2 separate regions of the Homo sapiens genome follow, and region 1 is linked to region 2. Evidence: promoter capture Hi-C in 16 types of primary human blood cells and fetal thymus (Javierre and others, 2016). All regions are on one chromosome and are shown on one strand. The core of a region is centred on a gene start or on the middle of the fragment in contact, and the rest is flanking DNA. Distances in the headings are between cores, read along the strand shown. Region 1 holds the start of USP1 (ubiquitin specific peptidase 1). Region 2 holds the start of CMPK1 (cytidine/uridine monophosphate kinase 1).

Region 1 (6,392 bases), core at 1,545-4,044, about 15 Mb before region 2:
TCAAGAGTTAATTTATAGAGGAAAGTTGTAATCACCAATTATATCTGTTAATCACAGAGAAAGTTTCATTAGTTTTTGGTTATCAGTTTTGGCAACAAAATCATCAATTTTGAAAACAAATTTACCAAGGGAATGGTACAAATTAGAAATTAACATTTGAAAACCTAATGCCTGCCAATAAGCACTCAATATTTATTGCTTAAATGAAGAAGCATACCACACTGTTCTTAAAGAACAAAAAACAGAAGCTACTGAATTTTTAAAATCAGCCTGCTATGGATTAAGGGTCGCATTACAAAATATCCTATTTAGTAGACCTACAGTAAAATAGTATAAGTAGTAAAAACTTATTATTTCAAGGGCCGGAAGCGATAGCTCACGCCTGTAATCCCAGCACTTTGGGAGGCCGAAGCGAGTGGATCACGAGGTCAGGAGTTCGAGACCAGCCTGACCAACATGGTGAAACCCCATCTCTACTAAAAATACAAAAATTAGCCGGGCGTGCTGGCGGGCGCCTGTAATCCCAGCTACTCAGGAGGCTGAGACAGGAGAATCCCTTGAATCCGGGAGGCGGAGGCTGCAGTGAGCCGAGATCGTGCCATTGCACTCCAGCCTGGGCCATAGAGCAAGACTTAGTCTCAAAAAAAAAACAACTTAATATTTCATTATAATGATTCATTCAGAAAATATTGACTGAGCACTACCACCTCTAATTCTCAAGTACAAGGTAGGAAAGGATGAATGGAAAATCAAAGTAGTGCTGGACGATGAGTCCTCTCTTCCAATGCCTTTTCTAGTTATTAACATGGATATATGAAAATAAAGTACCTAAAAAGCTTATTAAAGAATAATTTGCATTCAAGGCATAGAGATGGTGTTAAGTTATACCTAAAACCGTAAGTGAAAGATAAAACACAAGCAAAGTTGAGACCGTGATAAAAAAAACTGTTCGATGCACTTTGTGTAAATCCAATTCTTAATGCACTAGAAACCACAATACTCGTTTTCCAAACTTTTTAAAAAACTTTGGATTTTAAAAATAGTGCTTTGAGTAGGAAAAAAAGATGATTTGGTTTGCCATTTGCAACTTTCCCACCCTGTTTTAAAGTAAAACTTGCACGTGAAAAAAAATGGCAACATTTGTAGGAGTGTAGGAGTTAATATTTTCTACATCAGGCCTATTTTTCAGGACATGGGAGGAAAAATTATCTGACTAGAGTATTACCATAAAATTACTTAAAGCCCAAAACTTCAGCAACGAGTTTCAAATTTAAAATGCAGAGTAATAAAATGAACTACACAAGACTCACTCAAATTTCATCCTTAATAAGCATTTCACATGGCTGACACTGATCTAGGAATTCATACTGAACTCAGCACACTGAAACCATTTCTGAGACCCAAATCAGGAAGCACTGGAAAGCTGATCCATCTCTCCATTCTGTCTCCAACTTCACTTACTCTCCTGTCTACCTAATGCTTCTGAGGAAGCGCTGTCTTCTGAATGATAAACCAACCTGCGCTAAGTTCTCAGGGATCGCCAAGCATTAATGATTCTGATAAAAGGTTTTTCTCGAGAGCCAATTTAATGGATGACAGAAACTGGATCTCAAACCGACAGAGTAACCAGACTACACAGAAGGGAAGAATGATTAGGCAGGTGAAATAGCGGATCGTCAGCTTAATCAAAAAACCAAACCTCCTAGCCCCTCAAAGCAAAGCTCACACCGAGAATGTAACATTTTGCCAGGTGCAGTATCTTCCTTGCTATTTCTTGCTCCTGGCTTTCCTTGTAACTGGGGGGCTGTTACATCCAAAATATTTCTCCTGTAACTAAATCAACTTTCGCAGAAAGCACGACGAATCGACCATTATCTGTTGACAGCGTGAACACTCAGTCCCAATAGTTTTAAATTCTTTATAAGATGACACGACTCGATTCCGATTTTTCAACAAAAATCTACAAGGACATCTTCGCCAAGGTTTAAGACACGCGGCGTTCTAAACACTTCTTGAAAAAGTGTAAGTGAAAGAAAATGCGCGGTAAAATTTCGCAATTACCGACACAGGGCAACCTGCGTGGAAACGTTTCTTTCTCCCCATCCTTCACCGCTCTCGGGAACGGAAAGAAAGCTGGAAGGACGAGCAGCGACCAGGCTGCCCGGTCGGGGGAGGCTGGCGGCGGCGTCCTCGGCCCACACCCCCGCGCCGGGCGCCCTCGCCGCGGAGTTGGCCTATTTACGCCCAGCCCGCACCTGCCTTCTCGCGTCCCGGCGGCGGCAAGACAGGCGCCACGCCCGAGGCACACACGGCTCCCCCTGGCAGGTCGACCAGGGTGCGAGGCCAACACGGTCCCGGGGTCTCCCCGGCAGCTCCTCTCCCGCGCCGGCCGAACTTGCCCCCGCGCCCGGGAGCCGGCCCCTCCTCCCAGGCCCTCCTTACCTGGTCATGGCCCAAAGCGAAGTCCGCGGCGGTGACGCCGGCAAGTCCAACCCGAATGAGTGTGGGTGCGACAGGTGAGTCCCTGCCCCGAGCCCGCCGGGTCCCCGGCCCCAGGAAAATCTGGTCGGCTCGCCCTCCCCGCGGGGGAGTGACCATCCGCTCCCAAGAGCGGGAACCCCGACCGCCGCTCGCTCCCGTCTTGCACCAACACCAACTACATCCCGGGAGCGGCGCCCATCTGCGCCCGCCCCGGGAGAGCCAGGAGCGCAACAAGCAGCGGCCCCGCTCGCCGAACGCCTGAACCGCTAGGGTCTTTAGCACTCCGCCACCGAGGGGAACTTGGCGCGTTTTCCTCAGTCTCAGGACCCCCGTGTTTTAGCCTCCGCCCGCGCCAGCGCTGCGATTGAACGTGGCGTCCTTTGAAATTGCCGGTTCCAGTCTCCACGCTGCAGAGACACGAAAGGCAGGAGCCGTCTCGCGACGGCCACTCGCCCCTGGCACGCACGGGCTCCGGAGCCAGCTGGGACTGTAGTTCCCCAAAAGCCTAACGGGTTCCACAGTTTCAAACAACGCAGGCACAGAGCCGGGCAGCTCGTGCGGGTCCTCGCTGAGGGCGCGCGCGAGGTGCTAGCGGCCTGGCTGGCGGGCTCGAGCCTCACACCCTTTTTTTAACCATTCGTGCGCGCGAGTTGAGGGAAAAGCGTACGGGTCGGGAGACGGGACAGAGAGCAGACGGGATGGGCCACCACCTCGAGAAGGAGCCCAAATTCACCAATCCATGATGAACAATCCCCAAAACCGCGCCTCCCACCGCCCGGGGGAAGCCAATCAGAAGTACCTAGACCAAAGCCAATTAGATGGGCGGGAGCAGCAAGCCCATCTAATAGCAAAAAAGAAGAAAGGTGGGCTCCAGCCAATCATTGTTCGACATACGGAGTGTTCCTCAGGCGCGGTGCCCCTCCTTCCGCTCTCATTGGCGCTCGAGTGCGCGCTTTCGCTGCCGACTGTTAAAATCTTGTTTGGCGTTTTGTTAATCCTCGACGGTGGGACGCCGCGGAGGGTGCGGCTTCCGGAGCGAGGCCCTCGCGGTAAGCCCCGCCTCCGTTCGTGCGTACGCGCCCGGGCGGGGTTACCAAGAGAGCAGCTTCGGAAAATGGCTGCCCGGCTGGACGCCGCCGCGCTTGGGCTTTCAGTTCGGAGTCGCGGCCACACTAGGCCTAGGGCCATCCAATGAGACAAGGCGCTGCCACGGATAACAATACATGCTCAGGCGAATGCTGTAGAGCTGAGGCCCGGTCCTCAGCCCCTGCTCGCCTCATTTTCGCCTGTTTACCTCTTCCCTTTCTCGGCCGCAGGAGGAAACGAAAGAACAGTTTCAGGCCCAGCTCCGGCCGCGGGAGCTTCCCAGGGTTCCCGCGCGAGCCCTCCCAAAGGGTTCAGGAGCGGCAGGCAGGCCTCATCTGGTTGTGTGCTTCCTTTTGTGTTTGTGTGCCTGCTTTGGTGAGGTGACCTCAGCTCAAGTGCTGCAGTTAAGCAGGATACGTTCAGCCCAAATCCATTTAATCAAGTATTTTTAAGGTGCCTACTATGTGCCAGGCATTTTTCAAGGCGCGAGGGATGTAAAGGCATTCCCTGTCATAAAGGAGCATTACATTCTGGAGAGGGAGATACAAGTGACGCTAAGATAAGTGATAGATACGATAGCCTGGAAAGACCTCTTTGAGTTGACATTTGAGCAGAGCTGAATGAAAAAGCTTGGAGGAATCTGAGGGAAGAATGGTGCGGGCAGAGAGAACAGCAAGTTACAAACGTCCTGAAGCTTAATGTGGTTGGTGTTTTGAAAAGAAGCAAGGAGGCCAGGGCGCTTAGAGCGCAGTCAATTTGGGAAATAAGATGGGAGGAGATGAGATGAGTGAGAAAGGCAGGACCCTGGGTAAGCCGAGTAAGGAGATGGGAGTCGTTAGATGATTCTGAGCTGGGGAGTGGCGGGATTACACGTTGACCTTCAAGAGTACAAGCAGGGTCGGGCGTGGTGGCTCACGCTTGTAATCCCAGCACGTTGGGAGGCCAAGGCGGGCTGATCTCTTGAGGTCGGGAATTCGAGACCAGCCTGACCAACATGGAGAAACCCCGTCCCTACTAAAAATACAAAATTAGCCGGGCGTGGTGGCGCAGGCCTGTAATCCCAGCTACTCCGGAGGCTGAGGCAGGAGAATCGCTTGAACCCAGGAGGCGGAGGTTGCGGTGAGCCGAGATCGCCTCACTGCACTCCAGCCTGGGCAACCAGAGCAAAACTCTGTCTCAAAAAAAGAAAAGTACCAGCGGAAAGGTCAGCCAAGATGCTGGTTCAATAAGCCAAGGAATAAATTATGGTAGTCTGGAATAAGATGGTGGGATGTTGAAAACTGGTAGGGTTCAAGATATATTTTGAGCACAGCCAACGAGCTCTACTGATGGATTGGCTGTATGATAATGTAAGAAAAAACAGGTCGGGTAGCCAGGGCCGGTGGACCGCTTGAACCCAGGAGTTCAAGATCAGCCTGGGCAACATGGCAAGACCCATCGCTACAAAAAACTCCAAAAATTGGCCGTGCGTGGTGGCACGTGCCTGTAGTCCCAGCCACTCGGGAGGATGAGGGAGGAGGATCCCCTGGCTGCAGTGAGCCGAGATGCACCACTGCACTCCAGCCTGGGCAACAGTGTGAGGCCCTGCCCTCCACCCTCCCACCCGAAAAAAGAAAAAAAAACAAAGAGTAACGATTTTTTTTTTAACCTGAGCAACTCAGTGTTGGTCCTTGCTAAAATGGGGGTCTTAGTAGGCTCAATGGGAAGGATCATCGTTCTTAGAATATTAAGATTGAGGTGTTTAACGTACAAACAGATGTTGAACCAGCAGATCACGAAATACACAAGGACAAGATTAGAAAATGTATATAGGTCAGTCTTAGCCATTGTGCACCACAGAGTGGCAGTGTCTCATTTTCTAGTACTAGCATAATTATTGCTACTTTCAAACTCTACGAGAACAGATAAGCAATTCTACTTTCCCATATTCCTGAGATCCTATTGTCTGCAGCCACTATTCTTCCTGTACACAATGTGTGGTATCAGTTAAGATTCATTTGCGGAAAATAGAATCCATTTTAGCTAGTATAAACACAAAGATATTGAATACTTGGGAGGGTTGATTAAATAGGCTCTAGATTAGTTTTTCAGGAATGAGTCCCAAAGTCTTCCCAGAACCAGGCCACCAAGGAAGCAATGACTCTTCTATGATCAGGAAATGACGTCTCTGAATCACACTGCTGCTGCCATGCCTAGGAAACCACCATCAGAAAGCTGCGTGCACCGCTGACCCTAGAACCACACTATACCCACTATGATCTGCACCAGTGCCATGCATATCCTACGTCCCGTCTGTCAAGGCCCACAGGACAAGTGGCTAGACACTGAGGTTTCTGCTAATGCTGCTTCAGAAAAATCAAACACCTCCACAACTGTGCTTGTCAACAGCAATAGCAGAAGTTTGGTGTGTCTCTGGCAATATGATTAATGTAAAAATTTAATATGCTTCTCATTCTTTTGCTTTCAGTCAGTTGTTTGTGGGAGAAATTCTAGCCACAGTTCTTGCCTAGATGAGTTTTTAAGCCCCGAAACTTTTTTCCCAGTTTCTGTGTGCTCCCCAGTTACCCCACTCTTAATGACAGCTAATCCCTTTGGAAACAATGGGATTTAATAGGTTCACAGCATTCTCAATCCTATATTTGTCAGTCTTGTGTGGGTAAATGCCAGGCATATTTCCTTCCAAAGTTTCACAGGCACTGTTTCTGTGTACAGTCATCCCTTGGTATCCATGGGGGATTGGTTCCAGGACCGTTATGGATATCAAAATCCGAGGATGCTCAAGTCCCATATATAAAATGGCATAGTATTTGCATACAACTTATGCA
Region 2 (6,511 bases), core at 1,908-4,407:
GTACAGATATTTTAAAGGCATATTATGATTCAGAAACAGCATACTGTATTTAAATGCATTCAAATATAACACGCATAAAGTAATTTAAAAGAAAAATACTATTTTGCAATAAAAATAACCAGGCCAGGCATGGCGGCTCATGCCTGTAATGCCAACACTTTGAGAAGCCAAGGCAGTAAGATCCCTTGAGTCTGGGAGTTCGAGACCAGCCTGGGCAATATAGTGAGCCCTGGTTTCTACAAAAACCTGAAAAAAAGTTAGCAGAGAGTGGCAGTGCACACCTGTCATCCCAGCTACTTGGGAGACTGAGGTGAGAGGATGGCTTGAGCCCAGGAGGCAGAGGTTGGAGTGGGCCAAGATGGTACCACAGCACTCCAGCCTGGGTGACACAGAGAGACTCGATCTCAAAACAAACAACAACAACAAAACCCACCAATAAAAATAACCAATATAATAAGATCAGGAAGTTTAAAGTAGAGGTAATAAGATCAGAAGTTTAAAGTGGAGAAAAAAACTATCTGCATCTGTCTCTGTGTGCCAGATATTTTACCTCATTTAATATTCACAAATACCATACAAAACAGCCATTTCTATGTTTTCCCTTTTCACAGGGAACTAAAGGCAACAACATCTCTGGGCCTAGAGAAACAGTAAATGGCAGAGTCAGGGTTTGAACCTATATCTCTTTGACTCTAAAGTCTTTGCCCCTTCCCCCATCATGCTATTTAAGAAAGATCACATATACTAAACAAAAATTTGAAATCACTCCCACTTTTCACTTGCCATTTATTTATTTATTTATTTATTTCTGAGACGGAGTCTCGCTCTGTCGCCCAGGCTGGAGTGCAGCAGCCAGTCTCTTTACTTTTTAAAAGACAAGTGACAAGGCCAGGCACGGTGGCTCATGCCTATAATCCCAGCACTTTGGGAGGCTGAGGCGGGCAGATCACGAGGTCAAGAGTTCGAGATCAGCCTGGCCAACATGGTGAAACCCTGTCTCTACCAAAAATACAAAAATTAGCCAGGCGTGGTGGCGCACGCCTGTAATCCCAGCTATGCAGAGGCTGAGGCAGGAAAATCGCTTGAACCTGGGAGGCGGAGGTTGCAGTGTGCTGAGATCGCACCACCGCACTCCAGCCTGGTGACGGAGTGAGACTGTCACAAAAACAAAAACAAAAACAAAAAAACAACAAAAGAAAGAGAACCAACAAAAAAAAATTTTTTTAAGAGGATGTAAATGTTATGTATTTTTTTAGTTGGACTAGTTCCACTTTGACACCTAAAATGATTTTTTTTTTTTTTTTTTTTTTGAGACGGAGTTTCACTCTTTCGCCCAGGCTAGTGTGCAGTGGCGCGATATGGGCTCACCGCAACCTCCGCCTTCCGGTTTCAAGCGATTCTCCTGCCTCAGCCTTCGGAGTAGCTGGGATTACAGGCGCCCGCCACCACGCCAGGCTAATTTTTGTATTTTTAGTAAAGACAACGTTTCGCCATGTTAGCCAGGCTGGTCTCGAACTCCTGACCTCGTGATCCGCCAGCCTCGGCCTCCCAAAGTGCTGGGATTACAGGAGTGAGCCACAGCGCCTGGCAAAATGATCAATATTTATAAATACATCTGTCCAACACATAATGACTTGTTGAACTCATCTAACTTTCTCTGGATGCTATTTAGGGAATAAAATACAGGACAGGAGTTGATTGTTATGAACATATAAGGAGAGAAGCAAAAGCCCCATGCTAATATTGGCCATATCCTAGAAGAGGAGGAAATTATAAGTTCTAGGTCAAAAAAACTTTTGTTGGTTACAGGGTTTCAGAGTGATTTCACTAGAGGCCACCAATGGTCGCCTCTTCTGTTTCTAGATATCCTGTTTTCCTTCTTTCCCAAGCATTCCCCAGATTGTCCATGAAGCCTTTTTTTCCCACAGTGTCAATGCAGCTAACCAACCATACATCTAGCTCAAAAATTGTTAAAAGAATTGAACTGGTAACCTGTCTCAAAGCAAAAGAAAAAAAAGTAACAGCATTTTACATTTGGGAGGTGTTTTATATCCTGAGAAAATCTGGGTTCAGAGACTCTTTTTACTGTATTACAAGGGCTAACTGAGGCTGGGAGACAGGAAGTGACCGAGGGCCGAGCGTGAGTTGGCAGCAGGGCCAAAGGTTGAAGCTTGATCTCAGAACAGCACTCCCGGCTTTCCCCATCCCCGACCCGGGCCGAGCCTCAGGGCTGGCTCCGCCCTAAAGCTTGCGGGGACGGGGCTCGAGAGTGCCAGCGGCAGCCCACAGCACGCCTAAAATAACACCCCGCCCCACGGGCCTCCTTTCTAGAGTAAAGACACGTTCGGTGACAGTGCGGAGTTTAGGGAACCAGAGGGAAGGCGCGGAGAAGAAAAATAGGTCTCTCCTTCAGACAACTGTGGGCGCACACGGCCTCTAACCCAAATCCGCGCTCCTGCTGCCTTCACCTGCCACACGATCAGCGACACGCTAACCTCTGCGCGCTGGGGGACCCCCAAAGGTTGGCCTCCGGGATCCCTCTCCCAGCCCACTCTAGAGACGAATCTGGTCCCCAAAATGTAAGAAAAGAAGGGGCGCAGGAACAAAGCGACCTCAAGCGGTGGCCCCCAAGGCGGGCGGGCGCGGACTACAAGTCCCGGCACGCCGCGCGCCGGCGGCCCTCGGCCACTGCCACGCGGGCGGCGCGGTGGCCGCCGGGACTCGTAGTCTGCGGCTCGGCGACTCCGCGGGGCGCGGACTAGGGGCGGCGGGACAGGCCGGCCCGCATCCCGTCAAGCCCCAAGGAGCCCGCCTGCTGCCCGGGCCTCACCTCGACGATGCGGGCGCACTGGGTCCCCTTGCCGGCGCCGGGGCCGCCGAGGACGAACACGACCAGCGGCTTCATGAGACGTGGAGAGCAGAGGAGAATCGGCCGGCGGGTCTGCAGCAGGAAGCTAAGGCCCAGGACGTGGAGCAGCCCGCTGCGGCAGCGGCTCAGCATACACCGCGCCTCGGCCGGACGCTGAGGGAGCTGACAGCGGCCGGCGCGGCGCGGGGCGGGGCGGGGAGGCGGCGGGAGAAAGGGGCGGGCTGAGCCGGCGCCCGCCGCGGCCCCGCCGCCGTGGCTGCCCGGGCGTCCGCGGCCCTGTCGGAAGGGGAGGAGCTTCGCACGGCGGCGGCGTCTCGGCGACACTCGTGCGGTCCGCGCCAGCTTTCCTCCAACCCTTGGGTGGTTATTAGTGCTTTCTGACTGCAGATATTTTATCCTGCGCCCTCAAGTGTCTGGTGCTGAGCTGGAGGCTGGGACGTGATCCGCGGGAGAGCAAAACCTATTGTCTCTGCTCGCAATGAGTTTCCATTCCAGCCAGTGAGGTATGGGGAGGTAGCCAGTGTGAATGAGTAAACACCAGTACATACAAAAGGCAGTACGATTTTGAAGAAATAACAAGTAGGACATAAGATGGCCAGGGTCGCCAGAGAAGGCTTCAGAAGAGGTGACATTCAAGCCAAGACAAAAGGATAGAAAAGAGCGAAACCAGGCAAACACCAGGATAGAGTGTCCCACAGAGAAAAGCATGTGCAAAAAATCTAAGTTGGTTTGGCATGTTAAAGCAATTGAAGGAAGGCCTGGCTGGGCGCGGTGGCTCACGCCTGTAATCCCAGCATTTTGGGAGGCTGAGGCAGGAGGATGGCTTGAGCCCAGGAGTTCGAGACCAGCCTGGACAACATGACGAGACCCCGTCTCGACCAAAAATTTAAAAGCCGGGCACCGTGACCCGTGCCTGTGATCCCAGCTACTGGGATGTTCACTTGAGCCTAGGAGCCGTAATAGCACCACTGCACTCCTGCCTAGGTGACAATGAGACTGCTTCAAAAAAAAAAAAGGAAAAAAGGCCAGTGACAGTGAGACCAGGGCTGAGTCAAATGAGGGGAGAATGGAAGGTGAAAAGTTGAGAAAGTGAGGTCGGTGGCAGATCAGGACTTTTGATTATGGAAAGGAATTTGGGCTGTATTCTAACAGCAATGGAAGCCCTTTAACTCCGTTCGCCTGCCCCCTTCATTAGGGAAGAATCTTAAGGGAGAAGAAAAGGAGACGTTCAAGAACTGAGCCTTGGTGCATACAGGCCTTTAAAAGGCCTTCTGGCCAACGTTAAGAGCTCATTTGATATTTGAGGTAACGGATTCAAAATAATTGAAGATGTTTGGCCATTCAGGCACAGGCAGAGAAGGCAGCTTGTTGCATTTACTGAGGGTTGGGATTTTGCCTGGCAAGTACAACAGAGAGAGGGGGCCAAGTGATGAGAGTGTTTGGAAGAGAATGTTCATGATGCTGTGTGTAGAATCAAAACCATACAGGAAAGCAAATAATGGCACATGAAGCCTGGTAGTGGAGGGGTTGGAGGGTGGTGGGGAAAGGGACCAATGTCTTAGAGCATTGGCCCAAGAAAGATTGCAGTGGGGTATATGAGCAAGTGCTCTGGCAGTATGGATGCTGCTGGTCTGAGTGGGATATTTGGAATTGAAATGTCCCAGCTTCTGAGTTTCTGATGATGCCAAGGTCCAGGGTGAGACCATGGGAATGGAAGACTGAGGCAGAATGCATGTCCTGTTTTTAGAACTAAGAGTCCAGGGTGTTAGATTTGTCGTACAGGTACAAGTTCAAGTCAGATAGTGCTGGAGTGAACAAAGACTATGGGAAAGGAACTAAGCTGTTTAGGGCAGAGTGACCAGGACGTTAGTAAACGAAAGCAAACAGGAGAGGAAGATAGTGGTATAGCCCTCTGTCTGACCACCCCCATTCTCCTTTTTCTTTTGGTGGTCCTTTCTTAGCTCACTCAGCATTTTCTGGCTCTTCCCCATCTCTACTCTCTCTCCTTGCTTTCTTTTTGTTGTTGTTGTTTTTACTTATTCCCATCCTTCCTACCCTTCTTTTCCCATTTATAAGTCCCTCCCTTCTCCCTGTCTCTTTTCCTGTCCTTCTCCTCACCTACTTGCCTTTGTTTGCCCTTCTTTTCCATTCTCCCTTTAATTTCTACCTCTTTCCTCTCCACAACTTCTACCTTTTCCTTCCCACCATAGAAAGGAGAATGGGATATTTTTTATTATCACAGCTGGAAAAAAATTTTTTTGGGGGGGATAGAGTCTCACTCTGTCACCCACGCTGGAATGCAGTGGTGCCATCTTGGCTCACTGCAACCTCCACCTCCCAGGTTCAAGCGATTCTTCTGCCTCAGCCTCCCAAGTAGCTGGGATTACAGGCACCTGCCACCACCCCTGGTTAATTTTTGTATTTTTAGTAGAGAGGGGGTTTCACCATGTTGTCCAGGCTGGTCTTGAACTCCTGGGCTCAAGTGATCCTCCTGCCTTGGCCTCCCAAAGTGCTGGGATTGCAGGCATGAGCCACCGCGCCCAGCCAGGCCTACACTACACTACAGGTGGTGGTGTGCACCTGTAGTCCCAGATGCTCGGAAGGCTGAGATGGGAGGCTGAGGTGGGAGGATCCCTTGAGCCCAGGAGGTGGAGGCTGAGGTGGGAGCAGCCCTTGAGCCTAGGAGGTGCAAACTCCAGTGAGCCAAGATCGTGCTACTACATTCTAACCTGGGCAACAGAGCCAGACCCTGTCTCAAAACAAAAACAAAACATTTTTCTATGGATACTGAAATTTGAATTTATATAATTTGCATGTGTCCCAAAATATTATTTATTTTTATTTTTAAAATCCATTTTAAAATGTGAACATTATTTTGAGCTTGAAGGCTATACAAAAACAGGGACCCACGTTTAGATATGTGAATTTTCACATAAAAAAACACGGCCGGGCGCAGCGGCTCATGCATGTAATCCCAGCACTTTGCGAGGCCAAGGTGGGCAGATCACCTGAGGTTGGAAACCAGCTTGGCTAACACGGTGAAACCCCAGTTCTACTAAAAATACAAAATTAGCTGGATGTGGTGGTGCATGCCTGTAATCCCAGCTACTTGGGAGGCTGAGGCAGGAGAATTGCTTGAACCCAGGAGGTGGAGGTTGCAGTGAGCTGAGATCGCACCACTGCACTCCAGCCTGGCGACAGAGCAAGACTCTGTCTCAAAAAAAAGAAGGCTCCAAACCCTTCAGCTTCTGGGGAGGAGGAGCTAGGACATGGGCAGCCAAGAACAAGGACAATTGGTCATATTGGGAATGGGTAGCAGGAGTATGAAAAAGGCCATATCAAAACAAATGTGTCTTCTTTTCCTTTGTTCACACAATTAGAGTTAAAAGATCTTAAGGATATGGTGTCTGTGAGAAAAAGGGCTAGGAAGCTATTGGCATACTTTTAGTGAAGGCCTTGGGCTAGAGACAAAAAGACAGTCTTTGTTGTTTCCATGATAGAACACCAGAACTAAGGATTCCACACAGGGGTTTGGGTCTGAAACTTCCTAGTAAACCTACTTAAAGCAATATGTGGTGATTTTTTTTTCACAGAGAAAAAAACTTTCTGGATAATTATGACCACAGTTGGTTGAGTACTTAA

What was found. Contacts are between HindIII fragments. The CHiCAGO score rates a contact against its expected background, and 5 or more counts as called.
Region 1: the fragment with the promoter of USP1 here is called in contact with the fragment with the promoter of CMPK1 in region 2 in 1 of 17 cell types (total CD8 T cells); the score reaches 5.0 in total CD8 T cells.

The regions. Positions count from the first base shown.
Region 1 is chr1:62,433,451-62,439,842 of GRCh38, reverse strand. It overlaps USP1 (ubiquitin specific peptidase 1), which reads right to left and starts at 2,794. Exons shown (of 9, transcript NM_003368.5): 1 at 2,443-2,794; 2 at 1-44. RefSeq lists a silencer at 2,138-2,197 and enhancers at 2,898-2,967, 2,792-3,559, 3,528-3,877, 3,560-4,327. The HindIII fragment of the contact is 3,360 bases long and covers 839-4,198 here.
Region 2 is chr1:47,330,436-47,336,946 of GRCh38, reverse strand. It overlaps CMPK1 (cytidine/uridine monophosphate kinase 1), which reads right to left and starts at 3,157. Exons shown (of 6, transcript NM_016308.3): 1 at 2,831-3,157. The coding sequence starts at 3,001. RefSeq lists enhancers at 2,035-2,094, 1,611-2,414, 2,415-3,218 and a silencer at 2,605-3,244. The HindIII fragment of the contact is 8,075 bases long and covers 2,250-6,511 here.